Linked DNA regions of Homo sapiens: regions 2 and 3 are each linked to region 1. The links are contacts of gene promoters, found by promoter capture Hi-C in human tissues and cell types (Jung and others, 2019). All regions are on one chromosome and are shown on one strand. The core of a region is centred on a gene start or on the middle of the fragment in contact, and the rest is flanking DNA. Distances in the headings are between cores, read along the strand shown.

What was found. The method cuts DNA at HindIII sites, captures the fragments that hold promoters and counts their contacts. A contact is called where the count stands out against the background at its distance.
Region 2: the fragment with the promoter of CCDC17 here is called in contact with the fragment with the promoter of BEST4 in region 1 in 1 of the 25 tissues and cell types used here (IMR-90 fibroblasts).
Region 3: a contact is called between a fragment that was not itself captured here and the fragment with the promoter of BEST4 in region 1, in 1 of the 25 tissues and cell types used here (lymphoblastoid cells).

The regions. Positions count from the first base shown.
Region 1 is chr1:44,786,260-44,790,043 of GRCh38, forward strand. It overlaps BEST4 (bestrophin 4), which reads right to left and starts at 1,911. Exons shown (of 9, transcript NM_153274.3): 1 at 1,295-1,911; 2 at 1,113-1,207; 3 at 204-437. The coding sequence starts at 1,446. RefSeq lists enhancers at 1-453, 363-452, 454-1,139 and a silencer at 113-242. The HindIII fragment of the contact is 9,775 bases long and covers 1-3,784 here.
Region 2 is chr1:45,622,044-45,625,827 of GRCh38, forward strand. It overlaps CCDC17 (coiled-coil domain containing 17), which reads right to left and starts at 2,011. Exons shown (of 13, transcript NM_001114938.3): 1 at 1,693-2,011; 2 at 1,514-1,609; 3 at 1,174-1,396; 4 at 912-1,074; 5 at 708-791; 6 at 506-624; 7 at 198-305. The coding sequence starts at 1,866. The HindIII fragment of the contact is 15,886 bases long and covers 1-3,784 here.
Region 3 is chr1:45,350,964-45,354,747 of GRCh38, forward strand. The region is part of intron 5 of TESK2 (testis associated actin remodelling kinase 2); the gene reads right to left. Among named protein-coding and RNA genes, the nearest start is that of TOE1, 13 kb to the left of the region's middle. The HindIII fragment of the contact is 4,062 bases long and covers 99-3,784 here.

The sequences.
Region 1 (3,784 bases), core at 661-3,160:
CACCCTCTGCCGCCAGGGGAGGCTGCTGTTCCGCCGTCTGGCTCCCCTCCCTCGCGTCCACCGGCTGTCCCAGGACTCGCGGTTCCGCGTTCCTGTCGCAGTCCAGACCCTTCCCTGGAGGCCCCTGCTCCCAGGACTCTCCCAGGCGCCACCTGCATCCGGCTGTGGGCCGGACCCCCAGAGGCTCCCGGCGGGCGGCGCACCTGCGTCCACCACGTGCTCCATGGTGGGGAAGCGCTTAAGCACGCGGGTGCTGACCGAGCGCAGCACCAGCACGGACGCCAGGTTCGCGTAGCGGATGAGGGTGCGGCGCAGCAGGCGGCCCCGCTGGTCCACGCCGTGCACGCTAGCCGAGATGACGCACATCAGCTGGTCTGGCAGCGGGATGCTTGTGTACTGGGACCACCAGCGGTTCACCACGAGAGTCACATAGAAACCTGCTTGGCCGCCGTGATAGAGGGAGTAGGAAGGGAGAGTGGAGAGCCTGGGGGTCGGAGCGCCTCACCTCCCCCAGCAAAGGGCCTGGTCCAGGCCAGTTGAATCGTGGCAGGGGGAAGGAAACATTCAGCTCCAGTGCCCTGCTGTGCGAGGCCAGGAGGAGGGAGGAGGGCAAACTTCCTTCAGCAGAGGGAAAGTGGGGATTCAAAGCCAGGAGACTGCTTCCCAGGAGGGTGGGGAAGGGGTTGTCACCTCTGTCCAGCTCCCCTGCAGTGCCCAGGGTGGGCTTGTGAGGCCAGCAGGTGTCTTGTGCCTTGCTGGAAGTGAGGGTCCGGCAAGTGATAGGGCCCTGCCCTCTGGAAGTCCTGGACCCAGCACCCAGCTCCTGTGCCTGCTGGGCCTGCTCTGGCTGACCAGGAAGGCTCTGCCACCGTGTTGAGTAATTCTTTTTTTTTTTTTTTTTTTTTTTAGCAGAGTCTCGCTACATTGCCCAGGCTGGACTGGAACTCCTGGGCTCAAGCGATCCTCTCACCTCAGCCTCTCGAGTAGCTGAGACTGCAGGTGTGTCACCACACCATCTGTTGGGTAATTCTGACCCTCGGAGCTGTCAACCCAACCCAGAGGTCAGGGAACACAGTAAGGGGGACACAGGGAAAACTAGAAGGGAGCCTTACCCAATACAAAGGACAAGGGAATGAGGTCTGCTGAGCGGTTGCAGTACCGGGCCACCTGAGCATACACGTACCTCTGCTCCTGGGTCAGCAGCAGCCTGGGGAAGGCAGGTGTAGGCTTGGGTTAGAGGGAGGTGGGTGGCCCAGTCTCCCCACTTGCGCCAGCTCTAAGACCCTGCCCTTACCGGTAGGTGATGCTAAGCACAGCGTACAAGGCCCCAAAGAGGAGGAATTCCTTGTAGAGGAGCTTGTAGATGCTTCCCCTCCAGCGGAGAAGCAGGCCAGAGAAACCTCCGAAGCGGGCCTCCGCCACTTTGAGAGTGTATGAAACCGTCATGGTGCTGGGAGCCTGGGGCAGGAGGTCACAAGAGTTGCCCCCAGGGCTGTCGTTTAGTTCTCCAGACAACCTCCCTTCCACTCTGGTCTCACACACCCCAGCCTTCACCCTGCGTCAGTGGACAAGGGGGTAGGAGCCTGCAGAGCAGAAAAGTACACCCCACCCCCTGCAGAACTGAGCAGTACATGGGCAAAGCCAGGCTAGAGTTGGACAAGGTAGAACTGAGATCTGTGTCCCTTCATGCATGAGGTTTCCTCAAGCTCCTCTTCAGCCTGCAGGGCTAGGGATAACCAGATCCTGAACTGCTGCGGACAAGAGACGCAGCTCCAGCCCAAATCCACTGCTATTCCTTGGGGCCTTGCTTTGGAAGCTGATTAACTAGAACTACCAGGGCCCAGGGCACTCTCACCCCCATCCCATACCTGCCTACCTGCTCTGGGCAGCAGCCCGTGTGGAAGATGAACTGGGCTAGACTTCAACCCCCACAGACTTAAGTACCTCTGCAGTCCATAAAGTTAGGCTGGACTGAGGCCTATCATTGATGGATTGAAGCTGTCATCCAGCTTCCCCTGGTGCTGGGAACTGGGTGTGTCTCCTTACCCCTGTAGGGTTGGGCTGGCCTTCGAGTGGCAGAAATGCCAGCTATACTGACCCCACAGCTCACACAGACGACACCATGTCCTTCAAGCCAGTATGACAGGGGTTATTGTCCCACGTTTCAGGTGGGAAGACAGATGCATGATAAACTGTTATAATAATACCAGCTGCTGATCACAGAGCACTGACTAAGTGACAGGAACCATGCCAAGGGCACTACTAGGTCATCCTCTCAAGAAATCCTCATCACAGCACCATGAGGTAGGGAATCAATCATCCACATTTCACAGATGAGGCTCCAAGAGGTAAATGACTTGCCCGCCGTCGGCCATACAGCTAGAACATGTTGGAGGCAGGATTCAAAGCCAGGGCTGATGGACTTCCAAGGCTGGAAGTGGCCTAGCAAAGGCATGAGCTCCAGGACCCATCCTGTGCACTGGCCACACTCCCAGTCTTCTTGTACAGGGGCTTGGGGGCTTGGCCAGGCTCTTCTCCATCCATGCCACGGGGCTGACAGCCACAGATCTGGAAGCTCAGGCCTAGGAGTGCAGGCTCCGTTAAGCCCTGTGTCCAACATCCTGACTCCTAGGGGTGCCCAAGATTTGAGTGGCCACTTTCACCTCTGGAGGAAGTAATACCTAAGGCGCTGATAGAAATAGAACTTCCGCTGCCAGGCAAGGTGGCTCACACCTGTAATCCTAGCACTTTGGGCAGCCTCAACGCAGGTGGATCACTTGAGGTCAGGAGTTCGAGACTAGCCTGGCCCAACATGGTGAAACCCTGTCTCTACTAAAAATACAAAAATTAGCCGGGTGTGGTGGCACGAACTTGTAATCCCAGCAGGTACATGGGAGGCTGAGGCAGGAGAATTGCTTGAACCTGGGGAGGCGCAGGTTGCAACGAGTTGAGATCGTGCCACTGCACTCTAGCCTGGGTAATCAAAAAAAAAAAAAAAAGAAAAGAAAGAAAGAAAAAGAAAAAGAAAAAGAAATAGAATCTCAATGGGAGAATCGCTTGAACCCGGGAGGGAGAGGTTGCAGTGAGCTGAGATTGTGCCACTGCACTTCAGCTTGGGTGACAGAGACTCTGTCTCAAAAAAAAAAAAAAAAAAAAAGGCCAGGCACTGTGACTCACGCCTGTAATCCCAGCACTTTGGGAGGCCGAGGCAGGCGGATCACCTGAGGTCGGGAGTTCGAGATCAGCCTGACCAACATGGAGAAACCCCATCTCTACTAAAAATACAAAATTAGCTGAGCATGGTGGCACATGCCTGTAATCCCAGCTACTCCGGAGGCTGAGACAGAAGAATCGCTTGAACCTGGGAGGTGGAGATTGCGGTGAGCCGAGATCATGCCATTGCACTCCAGCCTGGACAACAAGAGCAAAACTTTGTCTCAAAAAAGAAAAAGAAAAAGAAAAAAGAAAAGAAAAGAAATAGAACCTCAAAGTGGAAGAGAATTGGCAGCTTACTTACCCTCCCAGTGCTGAGGTAAGTGAACACTGAAAAATCCCAAGAGTGGTGGTCCTGCCTCTGTCTTGTTTTGGGAAGCTCCTCCCCCTACACTGTGAGCTGGTTCTCTTCTGCAAGTTTCCTAAAGATAGGAAGCATAGAGAGGTGATTAGGAGCACAGGCTTGGGAATTGGACAAACCTGGGTCTGAACCCCAGCTCTTTGTAACTGTGCAAGTTACCTAATCTCTCTGAACCTCAGTTTCCTCCTCTGCAAATCAGAATCAAGAACG
Region 2 (3,784 bases), core at 761-3,260, 840 kb after region 1:
TTAGCTGAGATACCCCTCCCCCAAGAGTTGGGCCCACAAATGGGTTGGCGGAGCCCTGTGGATACAGGGATACACACGTGCAGACATGAACTAGGGGAGTCACAAACACGGGTCTTGTTCCCCATGCACTGTCTGCCTGAGCCAGGCCTGCTGGGGAGAGATAAGTGGGATGGGATAGGGTTGGGGTGCTCACTGACCCAAGGGTGCCCGACCCCTCTGCATTTGCAAGGCCAAGATTTCTGCCTCCAAGCGCCGGTTTTCAGCCTCCACTACTGGAAGCTCCCCTGAGGTGGCACCTGCCCTTCCTGCGATGAACAAGTGTGACCTGTCACCTTTGACCTCTGGTGACTGGCCGCGTCCGGCTGTGAGCAGCTCTCCAGCGCTAAGGCTCTTCGGATAAGGCTGGACTTGTCAGCTCACATGCCATCCACAGCCACAGGCCCTCCCTCGAGTTCTTTTCTCCTCCCAGGACTGACCACCGCTGGCGAGAGGCCCTCCTGTTCACCTCTGCGGGTCTGCGACCGCTGCAGCTCCAGTGCAGACGCCTCCACCTGCAACTGCCATATCTGGCCCAGCACGCCGGGGTCCCGGCCCCCGTCTCGAATGTAGGCCTCCCGCAGCGCCCTAGGGAGTGGGGAACAGGAAGGCCGTCTTTCCAGAACTGCTCAGCGCTTCGCCCTATGCCCATCTCCGGCCCCGGCTCTCACCGGATTTCGGCAGCCAGAGTTCCCGGGTTGGCCTTTTGCACTGGAGAATAAAGTTCTGCCTCTCGCCGGGAGCTCAGCGGGTTCCTGGGGTGGCAGGCGACGCGCAGGGAGACGGTAACGCATCAGAGGCCCCGGGGCTGCAGCCAGCCCGCCCCTCCCACCCCGGAGCCGCATGTTCCGGGGATCCGCTTAGTCGGGTCTCACCCTGGCTCCGCCTGCAGCTCCTGAATGCGGGCCCCCAACACCTCTAGAGCTCCCCGCGTCCTCCCGGCCTCAGCTTGTAGTTCTCGAATCTCCTGCTCCAGGCCGAAGAGGCGGGACATCCCGCCCCGCGTACAGGCCACAACTTGGAGGCGTCGGCTCAGTTCTGAGGGAATGCGGGCCGAGTCAGAACCGGCCCGAGCAAGCTTAAGCCAAACGGCGAGGGCAGAGGAGGTCCTTGGTCCCCGTCCCCCATCTCCTTCACCCTCGCCGCGTAGCTGCAGGGCCCGGCTCTGCGCTTCCATCTCCGCCACGCGCCTCGCGCGAGTCCTGAACAGCGCCCGCAGCCGCTCGCTGGGGCTTCCCACCGCCTCGGACATGGGACTCTGAGGCCGCGCCTCGGAACGTGTCCAGGGCCCCGCGAACACCCTGGGGACCTCTGTTATCCAGGGCCGCATTTCCTGTAGGGATAGCCGCAGCCACTGCACCTGGAGGTAACAGCGATCCGCGATCTCTGCGTGGGCAGAATCTGTCCCAAGTATGATCTACAGGTTTGGGGAAGACGCTCAACGTTTTGAGCCCTGGGGGAAGGTAGGTAGCTCTACCTCCTCTGTTAACCTCTTTAGAGCAGATCTACTGGCCTGCTGGTCTGGGAGGCCCTGGGGTTCTTGTGGCACGCCCTGGTGTTCTTGTGGCACAACCTGGGGATAGGGTGTAGTAGGATGAGGAATCATAAAGGTCCTGGCTCCTTTGAATCCCCACCCATGGCCATGGAGGCCCTTACCGCGGCCCGCTGGGGTTCAGTGGCAACTGATGCCTGTGCTCCAAATGTCATCTCTTGGGTCGGGTGGCCAATGCAGAAGCGCTGAGTATGGGTGGCTAACAGAGCTGAGGAGCGGAAAACCATGTCACAGGTCCCACAGGGCAGGAGCGCAGGCTCCCCAGAGTGGGAGTCCATGGGATGGGACCCGTTTCCTGAAACCAGCCAAGACCTGCAGAAGGGATCAAGGGCAGGGGAAAGGCAGAGGAGGATGAAAGAGACATAAAGCCAGAGGCAGAGAGGAAAGGCCGTGTCTATTAGGTCTGTGAGATCTTCAAGTTTGTTTGGGGAGAGCCTTAGCTCCCTGGACAGCAACCACAGGGCTGGGCAGGTCAGGAGAATGGGTGGGGAAACCTCGGCCGTTTGGGAGGAGCCACTGGCTTGAAAAAGTGTTACAAAGTCTGAACGTGGGCAAGTCTCTAATTGTAGCTTGGTTTCCCTGACTATTAATAAAGAGGAAAAAGCAGCTGCCTCCTAGACTAGGCTGGGCCCTTATCACTTACTACATCATTGGTCATTTAATAGCCTCTAAAAGGCAAGTGTCATCTTTTTCATTGCTGTACTCCCAAGTGGATGTAACAGTTTGTACCATTCTCCAATCCAGAGAACTACCTGGCAAAGGAGGCACTCTGACCTTTCCAGCATTCTGCCTGGAAACCATGTCGCACCAGGGATAGCAGTCTCCCTAACTCCCATTCCCTGATTCCTCATTTTTCAGCTGTAGACGAAGATAATCAGCACAGCCCAAGAAATGAAAGCTGTGGGCGAACAGAATGAATCTATCAGATGAGGGAATCAAGTCCAGAAAAAAACCCCTTCTCTCTCCCAAGATTGGCCAGAAGCCAGAAAGACCCTGAACTGTTGGTGAAATTCTTCACTCCACTCCCACTCCCAAAATATATGGAGGAGCTCTGAGGTGACCGCATATTTCTTAAGAAACCCTCTTTACTTTTTTTTTTTTCTTTTTGAGATGGAGTCTCGCTGTCGCCCAGGCCGAAGTGCAGTGGCGCGATCTCAGCTCACTGCAATGAGCTCTGCCTCCTGGGTTCACGCCATTCTCCTGCCTCAGCCTCCCAAGTAGCTGAGACTACAGGTGCCCACCACCACGCTTGGCTCATTTTTTGTATTTTTTAGTAGAGACGGGGTTTCACCATGTTAGCCAGGATGGTCTTGATCTCCTGACCTCGTGATCTGCCCGCCTTGGCCTCCCAAAGTGCTGGGATTACAGGCGTAAGGCACTGCGCCCGGCCAAGAAACACCCTTTTCTCTTCTTTTTTTGAGACAGTCTCGCTCTGTTGCCCAGGCTACAGTGCAATGGCACGATCTCGGCTCACTGCAAGCTCTGCCTCCCAGGTTGACACCATTCTCCTGCCTCAGCCTCCCCAGTAGCTGGGACTACAGGCACCTGCCACCACACCCGGCTTTTTTTTTTTTTTTTTTTTAGACGGAGTCTCGCTCTTTCGCCCAGGCCGAAGTGCAGTGGCACTATCTGGGCTCACTGCAAGCTCCGCCTTCCGGGTTCAAGCCATTCTCCTGCCTCAGCCTCCCGAGTAGCTGAGACTACAGGTGCCCACCACTGTGCCCGGCTAATTTTTTTTGTATTTTTAGTAGAGATGGGGTTTCACCGTGTCAGCCAGGATGGTCTTGATCTCCTGACCTTGTGATCCGCCCGCCTCGGCGTGCCAAAGTGCTGAGATTACAGGCGTGAGCCACTGCGCCCAGCCTTATGCCTGGCTAATTTTTTGTATTTTTAGTAGAGACGGGGTTTCACAGTGTTAGCCAGGATGGTCTCGATCTCCTGACCTCGTGATTCCCCCGCCTCGGCCTCCCAAAGTGCTGGGATTACAGGTGTGAGCCACCATGCCTGGCCGAAACTCCCTTTTCTAAACAAGACAGGGACTTAAGACATTTCCCTACTCAGTACCTAAAGCCAAGGTATGACCCACCAGCAGCAAGTTACAAAGTGTTCAAAGTATGTCATCTCAGTTCAGCTTAATTCCAACTGACATAAAGAGTACATTTTTAGAAATATGTTCTCAGAAAACAAGTAAATGGC
Region 3 (3,784 bases), core at 880-3,379, 560 kb after region 1:
CCTCATTGTGTGGCATAGCCTAAGACCATAACTGAATAGGCTTTTCATTCCAGTGAAATCACCTAAGTGGCTTCTATGCAGTCAACAATAACAACAGAAAAGAACTAAGAACTAAAGGTGCAATTCATAATTCATACTCATTCCCAACAGTAATCACAGAAGATCAGTTGGGCAGTAATGGTATTAAGCAGAAGCAAACTACTTTCTCAGCTGCCCCCAAGAGCCAAGGCTCGGGTATGTGTGTACTGGTTACTTCTAGAGCTACTGATAAAAGCCTGTGTGTGGCTATTGGCACTTCTTCATAGTGCTCACAAACTGAATATTTTTAAAGCCACACTGCCTCCCACTTCCTTCCAAGTAAGTTCTTGGCCTTGCCACTGCAAAAGTCTGTTTCAGGCTGTTTCTTAGAAGTAATTACAAAATTAGACTGAATGGCTATATCTGACAGACATTTTACTCTTAGAGCATTATTGCAGTAGCTGCGGACATGAGTCCTATAAAGGTAATACTACTTTCAGGAGGCACGTTGATAGGAAACTAGGGATCTTTTTGCTTCTAACCACAGGCTTAGGATCATTTGGAAAAAGGCATCTTCTTCTCTCTGTCCTGGTTTACCCACTTGGAACATGTTACCTCTACTTTAAATCCCTCTTGTTAGCTCTGGTCTGAGCAGTGTGGACTGATCGCTCCTGCAAAGTCAAGGACAGCATCTGTTTTACAGACTGGGAGCACGGAGGTTCCAAGGTCACTGAAGTCGTTCAGAGATGGGGACAAAACTGGGCCTGGAACCCAGAATCTCAGCTCTGGAGCAGGCGTTTTGGCCTCTTTGCTATCAAGCCCTTCGCCCTTCCCTGAAATAGGCCCAGGAAGACTTTATACTCTCATAGGCTCTGTGCTAGGTGGTAAGAAAACAAAAGTAAATAAGAGAAGCACTTGAGAAACTCATGCTGGTGGGAGATACAGACACAACAGAACAATCAAGTGATATGGAGTGTATAATATTAAAATATAAGAAAGCCTGATACTGTCCTTAAAGAAATAAGACACAGACCCAAGATGGACTATGAAGAGATAATTTGGAAACCTCCGAGCCCTCTACTGTCCCTTTAGCTTTATTTCTCAGAGATGATAAAAGGGCAATGAACACAGACGGTATCTCAAATTGGACAGTCTGGTTCATAAGACTCACTTGTTTGTCTTCAACTTGAGATCCCCTATAGTGTACTTCCCAGCCTTCCTCTAGAGTTTGCAAACGTCCTTTGTTCTCACCACCTGGAATTATCCTCAAAACCTCCTTAAAGTCCGGACCCAAGAAAGTACAGCCCAGAAATATAGGGAGTTATTTCTCCTATGTTCCTAGTTTCTTGTCTCAAGTCAGTTGACACTGGGAATACCCATTCCCCATAAGGAAAAGCAAAGGGTAGTGGTCTTATCCTATAGTCCAAAAAGGTTATTTTTATAATACAGCACAACAAGCCCAGACAGAACCACACTTGGACACTAGCACAATGGGACAAAGTGCTTTTGGGGCACAGAAGGGAATATGATGAACTCTTAGGGAGTGGGGGCTTTCCTCGAGGAAGCCTAGCTACCCTGGCCTAGAGTGATCTTTCCTGCTCAGAAAACTTGTCGTCTATGTAGCTAAACAATTATAAAATGCTGTGCACTACTTTTTAGTTATTTGCCAACAAAACTGTACATACCTCTAGGTCAGAAGTTCCTCTTTTCTAATATTCCTTCATCCTTGGAGCCAGGTATAGGAGACACTTGTGTGTGTGTGTGTGTGGGGGGAGTATCTGTGTAACTGATACATATTTTGTCACAAACTCCTTCTATCTTAGAAAAAATGGCGCTTTCTGAGTAGGAAGCAAAGATTTGATATCTGAGTTGATTCAGTCCCATCCATTTGCCTGGAACAAATGCAATTTTCTTTTTTTTTTTCTTTTTTTTTTCCAAGACGGAGTCTCGCTCAGTCGCCAGGCTAGAGTGCAGTGGCACGATCTCGGCTCACCACAGCCACCATCTCCTGGGTTCAAGCGATTCTCCCATCTCAGCCTCCCGAGTAGCTGGGATTACAGGCACCTGCCATCATGCCCGGCTAATTTTTGTATTTTAGTAGAGGAAGGGTTTCACCATGTTGGTCAGGCTGGTCTTGAACTCCTGACCTCAGGTGATCTGCCCGCCTCGGCCTCCCAAAGTGCTGGGATTACAGGTGTGAGCCACCATGCCCGGCCTGCACTTTTCTTAGTCTTGGTTTTCCAAAACATTCTGGGGGAGAAGAAATGGCTAATAAAGAGATAAGATATCACCTTCCAGGTCCCAACTGCCTAACTGTCCAGTTCTTACAGACAGTAATGTAGATAAAGGGCTCCTTACAACTAGGCCTCTGCTGGTTCCCAGTTTCTACTTGCCAGTCTTGTGCTCCTTCAGGAACAGTGCAGCTGACTACAAATGACTCTGCCACACACCAAAACCATTCTATGTGAGGCATCCAGGTACTTACTGCTTTAGGCTTTATTGACTCAGTACTGCTGCTTTTGTTCCCTTTCAAGCTTTTTCTTAAGATGGGCTCCCTTCCCCTCCCCTTCATCTGGGGCAGAAGGAGTAGGAGTATGTGCATGCATATGTGAATATGTGTACATGTAGGTATTGAGGGTGGGGAATGAAGTGACAGCTATTCTTAGGCAGGTACAAAACTCTTATACACCTCCCTAGCAGACTTTAATTCAGTTCTTGGGCAGCAGTCATATTAGATATGTTAGATTGCCTTATAGTTCCCCCATTAATAATCAAACGGTACTATTTATATAAGCCTTGTCATGATGGTATCTTAGGCCATTTGGCTATGAGGTGTCTGTTTTGTGGCATGGCCAACTTCCTCTGAAAGCGACTCTTTTCTAACCTGGTCACACAGCAATTTGGACAGCAAGAGAGTGCTACAGAGATCAGCTGATGCCAAAGAGGAACTGGCAGGGCAGCAGAAACTCAATCACACAGGCAGAAAATGGGTCAGTACATATGGCCCTAAAAACCTGCATTCAAGTGACTAAAAATCACTGAACTCCTGCTCTTAGCTAAGAACTACATCCTGGGGCCACAGGAAAGAAAACTGATAGGCCCCTATACTGCCTTGACTGCTGTCATTCCTATAAGGCAAGAATTTCTTAACCCTTCTCATGTCATTTGCTCCTGTAACACATATTCAGGAGATTGAAGTTAAACATGAAGGCTCTCAAGATGTATGAGTTGGCTGGGCACAGTGCATGCCTGTAATCCCAGCACCTTAGGAGGCTGAGGTGGGTGACTGCTTGAGCTCACAAGTTTGAGACCAGTCTGGGTAACATGGCAAGACCCCATCTCTGTTAAAAATACAAAAGAAAGGCTGGGTATGGTGGCTCATGCCTGTAATCCCAACACTTTGGGAGGCCAAGGCACGTGGATCACCTGAGGTCAGGAGTTTGAGACCAGCCTGCCAACATGGTGAAACCCCATCTCTACTAAAAATACAAAAAATTAGCGAGGGGTGATGGCAGGCGTCTGTAATCCCAGCTACTCAGGAGGCTGAGGCAGGATAATTGCTTGAACCCAGGAGGTGGAGGTTGCAGTGAGCCAAGATCACTCCATTGAACTCCAGCCTGGGCAATAAGAGTGGAAAAAAACAAAACAAGACCAAAATACAGCCAGGCATGGTGGTGTACGCCTGTGGTCCCAGCTATTCGGGAGGCTGAGGTAGGAGGATTGCTTGAGCCGATGGAGTGGAGGCTGCAGTGAGCCGAGACCATGC